4 separate regions of the Homo sapiens genome follow, and all the other regions are linked to region 1. The links are contacts of gene promoters, found by promoter capture Hi-C in blood cells and fetal thymus (Javierre and others, 2016). All regions are on one chromosome and are shown on one strand. Each heading gives the region's core, a stretch centred on a gene start or on the middle of the fragment in contact. The rest is flanking DNA. Distances are from core to core; before and after follow the strand shown. Region 1 holds the start of ARMC3 (armadillo repeat containing 3). Region 2 overlaps DNAJC1 (DnaJ heat shock protein family (Hsp40) member C1). Region 3 has its middle 13 kb from the start of DNAJC1. Region 4 overlaps DNAJC1 (DnaJ heat shock protein family (Hsp40) member C1).

Region 1 (3,002 bases), core at 36-2,535:
TACAGAAGTCACACCGGATATTTGACCATGGAAAACTGAATACAAATAATTGTTATAAAGCTGTTTATCAGGCAATTTAAATGGTGAGAAGAGAACATAAGATATATAAAAGTAGCAATTATAAGAAGCATCTATCATTCTTAGGACTGGGAGACCAACAGGGGCCGGTAGGAGACGGAATTTGCAAAGTCTAAGAGGAGAGGGAGAGACTTTTTGCTAAAGGCAATCAAAAAATATTTTATGAAGATGGCATTTGAGCTGGGCTTAATTAAGTGGAAATGAGAGAATATTTCAGGTATTGCACATGACCTGGGAAATAGAAGCTACTTTATAAATATTTGTTGAAAAATGAAGTGATGAACAGATAAGCAAGAAAATCTAGAGAAAAGTGTGGAAAATTTCGGGAACAGTAAGTTTGGCTGGAGCTTGGATGGTGGAGATCGGTTGAAAATGTGGTTGCACAGATGGAGTAGAGATGGAGCAGACGGTCTTAAATTCCAGGCCAATGTGTTGAAAATTTATCTTAGGAAGCCGCTGACATTTGAGTAGGGAAGTGACAAGACTGGAACGATGATTTCTGGATGGCCGATTTGCCTGTGATACGTAGAAAGAACTGTAAGCAGAGAGCAACTGAATTTCTCAGCCAGAAGGCCAAAAAATGACGAGCTGGATTGAAGTGACAATAAGGATATGAGAAAGGGAACAAGCAGGAAACAAAATGTAAGCCGCCAAGAAGTGGCTGAAGTGATGACTGTGGTTGGGGGGCATGGGAGGAAGAAGGGAAATTGAAGCTCCTTCTGAGTCTAGGCAATTGGAAGAATGGCAGGAAGAGGAAAGAAAGAGGAAGAGAACGGGGCTTTGAAGGGCCATGAGAAGTTCTGTGGAAACGGATTGGACATCCTAGTGCAAAGAGATGTGGCAGTGCAGGTCTGCAGCTTAACGGAGCCTGGGCAGGAGGTGGCTGATGTGGGTTTCATCTGCATAGAGATTCCGGCTGACGCCTCTATTTGGAAGAATGCAATAGTATTTGCGTATTTGAACCCACAGCCAGTCCTTGGGCCAGAAACTGAGGCTGAACTGCCTCTTGATTTACAGCTTCCACCCCCAGTTTCCATTCTCCCCTAAAGCACTGGATTCAGGTAATCGCGGACGCACTTGGCTCCTCCCGCACTGGCCGCTGCCCTCGGCGGGACAATGGGCGCCCTAGCAGCCCCGAGCGTTCCCAGGGCGCAGGCGCGGCGCGGCGTGGCGTCGCCTAGCAACGAGGCACAACAAGGGACTGGGGGTTCGTCTGCTGGGTTTGCGGAGCAGCTAGCTACTCGGCGGGATCTCCCGGCAGGTAAAGGTAACCCCGTGGGGTGGGGAGGCCCAAGGCAGAGGCCTGAGGAAAACCTGGGAAAGGAGAAGGTGCCACGTGGGCGCAGACTGCTTGGGTCAGTGAGGCAACACCTTGCTGGGCGTTGTTAGTTTCTGCCTCGCGCCCGCAGGGTTAGACGGGGCTTGGGGTGGGTTTCGTAAGCATCCCGCCACCTCCCATTCAACAGGTGACAAAACTGAGGCCCGAGAGGGGATCTGAGGTGAGATCAAGTCAGATTCCGTTACTTGACTGTGAGCAACTCAGAAGTGGCCTCGATTTCTTGAGCCCTCCTCCTCTTTAAATCTTCTCAAAGCAGAACTCATTAGAAAATATTTAAAATCATAGGCTGAACGTTCACGAAGAACAAATACAAAGGACCAATCAACTCGTGAAAAAAAAAATGGCTCCAGTAGTCAAGAAGATGCATTTTTAGAGCAGAGTTGTTTGCATATCCAATGCCCTGAAGTTTTCACCCAGTTAATTTACTGCTAGAGATTTATCCTAAAGAAATAGTTGGGGATAATGGATGAAAATTTTATGTCCAAGGACGTTCTTTCAGCCCTGTCCATATTTCCAGAAAATTAGAAACAAATTTCAACAATCAGAGACTGGCTAGATAGCTAAGGGATTTTAAAATATTTGTAATGGCATGTTATGCTAATCCACTGGAGATTATTAAAGCAATGAAGGGAAACTGAGACTTCATGAATTTATTTGTTAATATAAGAATTTAGTAGGAATATGAACCCAGGAAGGGAAGGTGAAAGTAGGGGATAGAAGTTGAGGCAGGATGTTAAAATCACTTTAGAAAAACACACAAAGCCAGGTACGGTGGCTCACGCCTACAACCCCAGCACTTTGGGAGGCTGAGGCGGGTGGATCGCCTGAAGTCAGGAGTTCGAGACCAACCTGGTCAATGTGGGGAAACCTGTCTCTACTGAAAATACAAAAATTAGCCGAGCGTGGTGGCGGGTACCTGTAATCCCAGCTACTCAGGAGGCTGAGGCAGGAGAATCTCTTAAACCTGGGAGGTGGAGGTTGCAATGAGCCAAGATCAGGCCACTCTCCAGCCTGGGCAACAGAGTGAGACTCTGTCTCAAAAAAGAAAAAGAAAAAGAAAAAAAGAGAAGAGAGAGAGAGAGGGAGAGAGAGAGAGAGAAAGAGAGAGAGAAAGAGAAAGAAAAAGAAAAAGAAAGGAAAGGAAAGGAAAGGAAAGGAAAAGAAAAGAAATAGTATTGATCTCTCTGAGCTTATCTTTGGGTGATTTTTATTTTATTCGTTGTGCCCTTGTTTTCCAAATTCTCCACAGTGAAATGTATTACCCTTGTAAGGATCATCTCCATAGCTCATTGCCACCGACCTATGTCAGCTGTTCAGTCTCTCCTCCATTAACTATCATACCCAATATGGTGATAAAACACATAGGCTTTTTTTGGGGGAGGAGACAGAGTCTCGCTCTGTCACCCAGGCTGGAGTGCAATGGGGTGATCTCAGCTTATTGCAACCTCCGCCTCCCGGCCTCAAGCAATTCTCCTGCCTCAGCCTCCCCAGTAGCTGGGAATGCAGGCACATGCCACCGCCACTCCAGGCTAATTTTTGTATTTTTAGTAGAGACAGAGTTTTGCCATGTTGTCCAGGCTGGTCT
Region 2 (3,229 bases), core at 559-3,058, 930 kb before region 1:
TTATGACACGCTTAGACAAAAAATTTCAGTAAATATAAGTAATACTCAAATATCAACTATTCAGTTCTTAAAATGAAATACTATGCTGTTATTTAAAACATGTAATCATATTTTTACATTCATTAGTATAGGGCCCATCTTTTACAATTAAGTGTTTTGATGAAAATAAAGATTTTTGAAAATATGACTGTGACTTCATTATAAAATGATCTAGGGTCCTGCTTCATCCAATCAGAAATCTCTCTTTCCACTGCAATTCCTTTCCTTTATTTTTGTATAACTCTGTAAGAAAGGCTTTGGAATTGTTTTCAACTAGGTGGAATTAACTGGTATCATTACTGTCTAAACAGACCCAATAATGCCCACAGTGGAAAACAGTTCTGAAAGTCACATAGTACCATTTATGGAATAAGCAGTTCACTGAGAGAGAGCATAACAAAGCTGAGAAAAGGTTTATTACAGACACTAGGCATTTTATCAAACAACTTTTATTGGCATTACTTACAACTGCCATATAAATTCTCCTCTCAGCAATCAAGTCAAATAACCTCAACCTCTGTTTTATTCTCAACATTGAACAAAATATGATTGTGAAATTAACCACATTAAACCAATCACTAGGTAAACTGGTAACCCATATAACGTTTTAGAATATATTTCTAGGAATAATTGTAATAGCAGAAGCCATTCCACTTTCCCAGTTCAACTTAGGCTATTGTCTATGAATAACAAAAGATACAATATTCTAAGAGTGTTCTCATAATTAGTGTAAAGAAAAAACTGAGAATAGCATAAAAGGAAAAAGGAAACTTAAAACTAAAAGAAAGTCTCTGTTCCATCAGCTCTAGATTATATGTGGCAAAATTTTCACAATAGACTTGCTTTATCCCATAAAATTGGCTCAGGCATCTTCCACTAAACTATACATATCACAAAAAGAGTGTGTACATAAGAAAACTAATTTTATGATAATTCTATCTGATGCAAAGATGTATACAATTAAACAAGTACTTATTCAGCTCTAACGCTATGCATGCCTACATCAGAAATATAAATGACTGAAAGGTTATCTACCATTCTAGATTCTGTGTATCTCTTTCTCCAAATTAAAAAAAATTGGATTCTACAATAAAAATGGGGAAGCTATTATTACACAACACACATGTACAAAGGAATAGACTCCACAGAGAAAGACTGAACTACACTCAACACCACAAGCTCAGTGGATTCCACTGCAAGAATCACTGGACAAAATTGATAATCACAGTACAAATTCACCATCATTCATGAATGAAATCATCATCTTCATTTCTAAAAAGGACTGTGATGGGCTTTAGGGAGGCCCCATTAACTGGTTTTTCCCATCCAAAAAACTGAGTGGACACAGGAGTCGGGCAGACAAGAGATGAACCTTTATAACTGATACAGCTATTGAAGAATACAGGTTAAATGTGATGGCCAAATGGGCTTGCTAGCAATTTGTGCCCTCTCCTCTACATTCTAGACTTTGAGACAGTATGCTCAAGGGTAAGTCTGGTTAGGATAATTGCCTTACTGGTCTGGGCAGAGAGGTGCAAAGAGACTGATTCCCACTACTCATAGCTTTCTGACTGATCAGCTCTTCCTAATCAAGCAAAACAGAGCAAAGGCAATCACCCTCCAGTAAGGTAACTCACACCGCCATGGTAAGATGTTAGAGATGGGTCTAGTGATCAGTGGTGTTTTTTTAGGGAAGTTCCTCCCAACCATGGGGCACGGATGAATGGGCAATAATTGTCCCTCCTCTAAACAGGCTAGCTAATCTGTACATTTGAAAATACAGGCCGAATGAGCTTAAAAGGTTTATTAATTCCTATCTAAAAATTAAAATCCAAATATTTTATAAGCACATCCCTGTTCTTCTGCTTTTCTTCTGTTAACCAAGTTTCAGCATTCATTTGAATATAAGGATTTAGTTATAAAACACGAGAGAAAGAGAATGAAGCACATTTTCTAGCTACATAAATAGAAGTCTGTAATGACTGACTGGCACCATGAAGACAAATCTTGACTTCAGCATAAAGTAAATACTACAAAATTTAAGATAATTTAGCTTGTCATTATTTCAATTCACAGATTTTTTTAAATGAATATGAAGTGTTTACTGTTGGCTAGAATTACTGTATACAAAGGATAAGGAAAGTCATGGTCCCAAAAGACAATTAAAAGAAATATAGAGGCTGGGCGCAGTGGTTCACGCCTGTAATCCCAACACTTTGGGAGGCCGAGGTGGGTGGATCACCTGAGGTCAGGAGTGCAAGATCGGCCTGACCAACATGGCGAAACCCCATCTCTACTAAAAATACAAAATTAGCCAGGCATGGTGGCAGGTGCCTGTAATCCCAGCTACTCGGGAGGCTGAGGCAGGAGAATCGCGTGAACCCAGGAGGCAGAGGTTGCAATGAGCCAAGATCGCGCCACTGCACTCCAGCCTGGGCGACAGAGCAAGACTCCATCTCAAAAAAAAAAAAAAAAAAAAGAAATACAGAATTGCCACTGACCCCACAAGAAGTACAGGTGTCTGAGAAGCAGGTGCTGTTACACAAAATATAAATACTGTGCAGGAACCTATAATTTAAGATGGTAACGAAAGATCTTTCAATAGCACATCTTTTTTCCTACACTCCTCTCTCATCTTCCCCCCATCTCCTCTGAAAAGATGCAATATCCAAATTGGAGTGCCCTATTATTAAAGTCATTCTAAACATGGTATGAATGACTAATAAATCATCTGTATATACCCCCCAACAAAGACTTCTGCAACCCCTTTCTAGACTTCTAGAATGGACGTGAAATCTAAGGATACATGGAAGAAGATTCTTCTGCTGCCTGAAGGCTGTGAAAGATTACATAGAAGTAAAATCTGTTGAGTAAAAACTGTCAAGCAACTACTTGTTTGGGGAATTACAGTTTGCATTTAGTTACAATGTTTATAATGTTTGATTCAATAAATATTTAGGTGTTTACTATGTGCCTTACTATGAAGAAAATAAAAAGCTACCATCTGTCCTAAAAATGAGGCAACTAACTTGTCCAAGGTCATAAGGTGGTCTGGTCCAAGTTCTAAGTCATCTGTTATTCAGATTATAGAGCTTAGAGAGTAACTGAGTTATCTTATACCTGGTGGATAAGGGGATAAAGAAGATGCCACAGACAGTCACTACCATCTCTGCCTTCTAGTTTAGGATAT
Region 3 (3,359 bases), core at 705-3,204, 910 kb before region 1:
CAAATTCAACAGTCTTGAAGAATATACAGTGGACTGGGACAAAGTCTGTTGGGCCTGCAGAACAGACAGTGGTTTGTGACAAGTCTGTCCAGGTGTGTTGACAGACTTCAGTCTTTCTTCGGGCCCTGTGAGTTCAGTTAATGAAATACACTCAGGGAAGGCAACAGAGGTAATTATTTTCTTTGACAGGCCCAAATTTTAAGCAGATAAGGGAACTTCAGAGAACAGCTTCATCCTTTGCTTTGACAGAGACAACAGATGAGAGACAGAAGGTGGGGGGATAGTCAGAGAGACCTTGAGGCTTCGTCTTCAGTTCCACATGTCTAAGCACCATATTTTGGGATATCTGTTTCTGAGCCCCAACATCACCTAACTTAAAAAAACATCACTACCTTATTAAATCATCTGCATAGCACTTCTCTGCTACCACTTGGTTAATTTCCCTTGTTTATGCATCATTTGTTTATTGTCTGATTTGCTCACTAGAATGCAAGCTCCATGATAGCAAGGACTTTATCTTGTTCATTCCTCTAACTAGTGATTAGCCTACATTGGGCTTTCAATAAATATTATTGAATTTAAAAATGAAGACTCCTGTCTCTCTCTCAGAGTTATAACCGACGGTATTATGTCAGATTCCTGCCAGATATATGACTGTATTACATCAGATTCCTACAAAAAAACAATCAAGTAAGCTATAGTAAAGTATCCAGCTCTAAGTAAGCTACTACTTCCAAGATGACGTCCATGTTTCACTACCCGGGGCCAAGTGAAGGACTTGGTAAAGGATGTGATGAATTGACTCACCGGCTGTATTGATGAAAATCATTGGTTACATTGGTAACAAGTCCAAAGTTAACTCTGACTCCACAGAAACACTGCTTGCAATTACTCATTTTTGATTAGTATGTATTAAACTATTCATGACTCAAAAACAAGTTAGATACTAAGATGGTGCCATAATGAATAATATGTCCAAAAGTTCTTCAATCACATAAAAATTCTCATTGCCATCCTGAGTAAATATAGCCAAGAAATTCTGATTTATATTATGTTCTTCTCAGTTGTGGTAGGACTTGCCACAGATAATTTCTCAAGATTTCCTGCAAGTTCAAGGTCATGCTTTCAACAGACCGAGCAGCAGTATTTTCAGGAAGACAGAGATATGCAAATGCTATGACAATTTTACGTACTCATTAGAAAAGATTTTTAAGCCCAGCCAGTTCTTTGATTTGGTACACAATTGCATTTCACAGAAACAATGTTTTCATTCATATTCAAAAGCATTGTTTGTCAATATTTCAGTTAATGTTATCTTTCATTAGCTTTATCATCACATATCTTAGGTAAGGTCATAGTTGTAAAAAGTTGTTTCATAATGACCTCTCAAGCTGTATTCTTTTGACACGGAAACATTTTGTTTTAAGTACAGAGGAATAGTCTCATTTCCAAAAGAATAATGCTTATGCCCATTTTCCTTTTTCCCTGAAACTTAAAGCTTCATGGTAGGGTTGTCAGATTTAGCAAATAAAAATACAGGATACCTAATTAAATTGAATGTCAGATAAGCAACTATTGCATGAGACATACTTATATGAAAAAGTCATTCGTTGTTTATCTGACATTCAGATATAACTGGGTATGTTATCTGGCCACCCTGGTCTATCTTCGTTTTTCCCACTTTTGATAGAGACATAGGTTGAAATATACTCAGATGGTTTCCAGGAAGTAACGACATCTTTAATACTTTCTTGTTAGTGATCTTTAAATGTTGTCAGCTTTTAAAAATCGAAGTAGGGAACTAATACTTCTGACCAAGATGAATATCGGAAGTCTGAAACACTGAAAAAAAAACTCAGATAAAATAAATGAAATATCAGTTCTCAAGATGTTGGAAATCAGGCCACCGAAGGATTTCATTATGTCAAACAATTAAACAGCAAATATTGACTCAGCTTTTACCATGTCGTAAGTCATTGTATTACAACATGCCACAAACACAAGAAGAGAAAAAAAAGACAATCTCTCAGTCCTTGGAGAATTTACAATTTGGTAGGAAAGATAACACGGATACACACAAAAAGATAATAAACAGTACAAGGAAGTAGGTGGTAAGTGCCAAAAGAGTAACACAGATAAGAGGAGGCAGGAGATCAGTTTCATCTGTGTCTTTGGAGAAACAGTCAAGCTAAAGGCCTCAAAGGGAGAGAGGACAGGAAAGAGAGTATTTCACTAAATGCTTTACATTCATTATTCCATTTAAGCCTCCCAATAACCCTACAAGGGAGTTATTATTATGATCACCAGTTTCCAGCTGAAAAAAGAATGAGCAGGTCTGAGAAACTTAACTATGGCTACACAGCTAGTAAGCAGCATCTCCACCTCCACCAGGTCCTCCTGACCCCAGAGCCTAAGCTTTTAACTACTAGTGCTACCTCTGAGATGAGGGGGGGAGTAGACTGGAAGCTCTACTGTTACATGAAACTCCTAGAGTTTTGAGTGGGAAAGCAAGATAAAATGACTATTTTAGAAAATGAATTCTTCACACACCATCCCAGACATTCTGGATACAAATGTCATTTGATCACATTGGATTGCAAGGAGACTAAAGAGAGTCAAAGATCAGAAACACTGTGAAATCAAAACAAACTGAAATGAGCTGGTGGTTATTTGCATATATAGGCAAGAGAGAAAGGGAAAAATCAAAGGTAAATGCAAGGCTAAAGATTACAGATACACACACACACACACACACACACACACTCTATTAGAACTAGTAAATTCAGCAAAGTTGCAGGATACAAAATAATCACACGAAAATCAGTTGTGTTTCTATATACTAACAATAAAAAACCTAAAAAGGAAATTTATAAAACAGCTCTATTTTCAATAGCATCAATAACAATAAAAAATTTAGGAATAAACTTAACCAAGCCAAGGGAAAAGAACTATAAAAACTATAAAACATTGCTGAAAGAAATGAAAGACAACACTAATAAATGGAAAGACATCCTGTGTTCATGGATTGGAAGACAATATCATGAAGATGTCAATACTATTCAATGTGATCTACAGAGGCAATGTAATCCCTATCAAAATCCCACCAGTGATTTTTGCAAAAGGAGAAAAATCCATACTAAAATTCATGTGGAATCTCAAAGGACTTCAAATAGCCAAAACAATCTTTAAAAAGAACAGAGTTGGAGGACTCACAATTCCTGATTTCAAAATTTACTACAAAGCTACAGTAATCAAAACAGTGTGGTACTGGCATAAGGACGGACATATAGACCAATGGAATAAAAGAGAGAAATAACCCTTCTCATATACCTTACAGTATATGAAATAACCCTTCCCAT
Region 4 (3,079 bases), core at 488-2,987, 950 kb before region 1:
CTATCTGATCAATCTCTGAGTGCAGCTCAAGAAGCTGCAAAGACATTTCCTTCATTTTCAAAAGGGCTCTTATCTGAATCATATGTATTTTTATTCAACTGATCTAAAGAATCTATATCCCAAATAAGGAAGCATGAGAACAAGGGTTTAAAGGATTTTAAGAACTATGATGCCAGGTTAAAATGCTAGAGGAGATTTAATTGATTTTTTAAAGTATTATTATTTTCATGAGTGCTTATAAGGTTCCACAGATTTTGAACGCTGTACCTCAACCCTATTTTTCCCATAGGTACTGTTATTTTTAGGGTGTGACTTTGCAGAATATGAAGCCATATATGGTTTTACAGTGGGAATACATGTACTTGGATCTGGTCTACCTGGATAAAGTAAGAAATAATGGAAAGTAAACTAAAGACAGAATACCTGTAAAGGAGATATCCTTATTTATAATTTTTCTTTTTTTTTTTTTCACCATGGCTTTACCTTCTGCAAGTCAATCCGGCTAAGGTACAATGGATAAAACGATTATCAAGCTTCTCTTTCTTACCTACCCACAGCAAACTTTGTTCCAGGCCTTTGACACCTTCATTGTTTTTGATAATAATCAAAGCTTTCTGCTCCTATGACTTTTGCAGTCATATGTCAAAACTGCATATGTCTGCTCCTATGACTTTTGCAGTCAAAAGTCCTATGACTTTTGCATTCTGCTTATTATGAATCCTGTTCAGAGTTTATTTTTGTCTTGTTCCCCAGCTTATTTTTCCAGAATCAAAACATTAACAGAGTTGCGGGGCTGGAAAGTCCTTAGGTTATCTAGTCTAACTTTACACTATTCTATATTATTAGCTACAAATATCTACTGACCACAGGGCTAAACAAGTGCTAGAAATGGCAGTGAACAAAAACAGGCACAAAATCCAGATATTGAACAAACTATATACACATATACACACATATATTTCCTAGTTCTGTCCATTAAGAAGTAATTTCCTACAAAGAAATTAACAAAGAGAAAATAGTAATTTTACGGTGGAGAAACCTGGCAGACACTTAACCAAATGATCAAAGTTAACATCATCTGTGATGAGATATATGGATATCATGTGCCTCCTGATACAATACACTGAAAAGGGCACACCACTTCCATAGTATTTATAACAAACATGCATAGTTTGAATTTAATCATGAGGAAATATTAGACAAACCCAAACTGTGGGACACTTTAAAATATAACTGTCCAATATTCTCCAAAAGTGTCAAGGTCAAGAAAGACTGAGGAACTGTCCCAGAGTGGACATAAATGAGATAAAACAACTAAATGTGTGATTCTGCACCAGGAAAAGGATGTTAATGGGACAGCTGGAAAATCTGAATAACATCTGTAGATAACACTGTAACAGTGTTAATGTCCTGGTTTTTATCAATTTATTAAGGTTACATCTGAGAAAGCCAGGTGAAAGGTATATGAGAACTGTATTATTTTTGCCACCTTTTGTTAAGCCTAAAATTATTTCAAAATGAAAAATTATACATAAAAAGTTTTAAAATATATTTCTTAAGTCTAATATTTGAAGTCAGTGATCACATATTTCCTTAGCCTTTCCTTTTCAGACTAAATGTGTTCTTCTTTTTGGGCAAGATTCCCAGAAACCCTACTGTATTTGTAGCTCCCCTTAAAAAAAAATTCAGTTTGTTAATATTCCTCCTTAAGTGTGGTACCAGGAGTGTTTATAATACATTGATGGAGATTGCATTAAATTTCTCATTTTCTGTGATCAAGTCACTCTCTGTTTCTATGTTTATTAATGCAAATTAGAGTTGAATTTTAAAAGCAGATGCATAATGCTGTTGGCCTAATTCAGCATGTAAACAACTAAAACCTGAGTGTTCATCTTTACTGAAGTCAAACCAGATCTCCCCGTTTTATATTTGTGCAAATGATTTTCTCAAGCAAAATGTAGAATTACATTTTTCCCTGATTACTTCCATCCTTTCAACTCATAGTTTACGATGGTATGGAGACCAGTTAGATTATTCTGAATGATAATTCTATCATTTACTCACTTGGCATGTATTCAGCACATACCATTTGCGGTGTACTATAAATTAAGAATCTATTAAAAATTTGCCATGGAATTGAGAGCAGTCATATCTGATTGGAAGAGCAAGCAATGGAGAAAATCTTTAATAATGGGATTAAATTTGGGCTGGGCCTTTAAGAATAGGTAACATTTAAATAGTAAGAAACAATTACAAAATAACAGTTATGATCTTTGAGCCTAACAGATAAGCTCCACAAGTTGTTAGTTTTCTGAGACTGGGCAAGTCTCTGAAATTCAATTTCCTCATTTGTAAAATGGGGAAAAAATGCCTTACTAAGTAGGGCTGTTTTAAAGATTACATGAGATAATATGTGTATTCAAAAACAGCCTTTTCAGCAGACGGTGCCAGGAAAACTGGATATCTGCATGCAAAAGAATAAAATTGAACCCTTACCTTTAACAAAGACTGTCTCCTTGACTAAACTCTAGTCAGGCTCCTCTAAACCATCTTCACAGCTAGGCCTCAACCTTTGAACTTCTATCTCCTCCTTTGCATCGTCCAATTTTAGCAAGAATTCTGCTAAGAGAGTTAAGCCAGAAACCCTACCATTGATATCCGATCACCCTCAATATATCTGACCAAATTCCTCATTCCCCACCAACCCCCAGGCGATACCTGATTACCTTGGCCTGCCTTTGGCAAAAACCTTGTCAAATTGGTTTCACCAGAGACCCCCTTAACTCTGATGTTTCCTCTAATCTTCCATCCACTGACCCTGTTCCTTGGCTATAAATCTCCACTTTCCATGTTGTATTCAGAATTAAGCTTCATTCTGTAACGAAGTCTCTTTTCTCCTACTGCAACTGTTCCTGATTAAAATTTGCTTTTACTGCTTTAACTACTGTCAGGCTCTACTTTTCTTTGACGCCTCACATCATATATATAAATTGACTTAAAAATAGATCAAGGACTAACATAGGAGTTAAAACTATACAACTCTTAGAAGAAAATATATGGGAAAAAACTTCATGATATT

The links. Contacts are between HindIII fragments. The CHiCAGO score rates a contact against its expected background, and 5 or more counts as called.
Region 2: a fragment that was not itself captured here is called in contact with the fragment with the promoter of ARMC3 in region 1 in 1 of 17 cell types (naive CD8 T cells); the score reaches 5.5 in naive CD8 T cells.
Region 3: a contact is called between a fragment that was not itself captured here and the fragment with the promoter of ARMC3 in region 1, in 4 of 17 cell types (endothelial precursors, total CD8 T cells, activated CD4 T cells and 1 more). The highest score is 8.1, in endothelial precursors.
Region 4: a fragment that was not itself captured here is called in contact with the fragment with the promoter of ARMC3 in region 1 in 1 of 17 cell types (naive CD8 T cells); the score reaches 5.1 in naive CD8 T cells.

Annotation. Positions count from the first base shown.
Region 1 is chr10:22,926,768-22,929,769 of GRCh38, forward strand. ARMC3 (armadillo repeat containing 3) reads left to right here and starts at 1,286. Exons shown (of 19, transcript NM_173081.5): 1 at 1,286-1,339. The HindIII fragment of the contact is 5,434 bases long and covers 1-3,002 here.
Region 2 is chr10:21,995,892-21,999,120 of GRCh38, forward strand. All of the region lies in intron 1 of DNAJC1 (DnaJ heat shock protein family (Hsp40) member C1), which reads right to left. Among named protein-coding and RNA genes, the nearest start is that of DNAJC1, 6.2 kb to the right of the region's middle. The HindIII fragment of the contact is 6,758 bases long and covers 1-3,229 here.
Region 3 is chr10:22,015,413-22,018,771 of GRCh38, forward strand. No RefSeq gene overlaps it. Among named protein-coding and RNA genes, the nearest start is that of DNAJC1, 13 kb to the left of the region's middle. The HindIII fragment of the contact is 917 bases long and covers 1,497-2,413 here.
Region 4 is chr10:21,979,257-21,982,335 of GRCh38, forward strand. The region is part of intron 1 of DNAJC1 (DnaJ heat shock protein family (Hsp40) member C1); the gene reads right to left. Among named protein-coding and RNA genes, the nearest start is that of DNAJC1, 23 kb to the right of the region's middle. The HindIII fragment of the contact is 2,258 bases long and covers 609-2,866 here.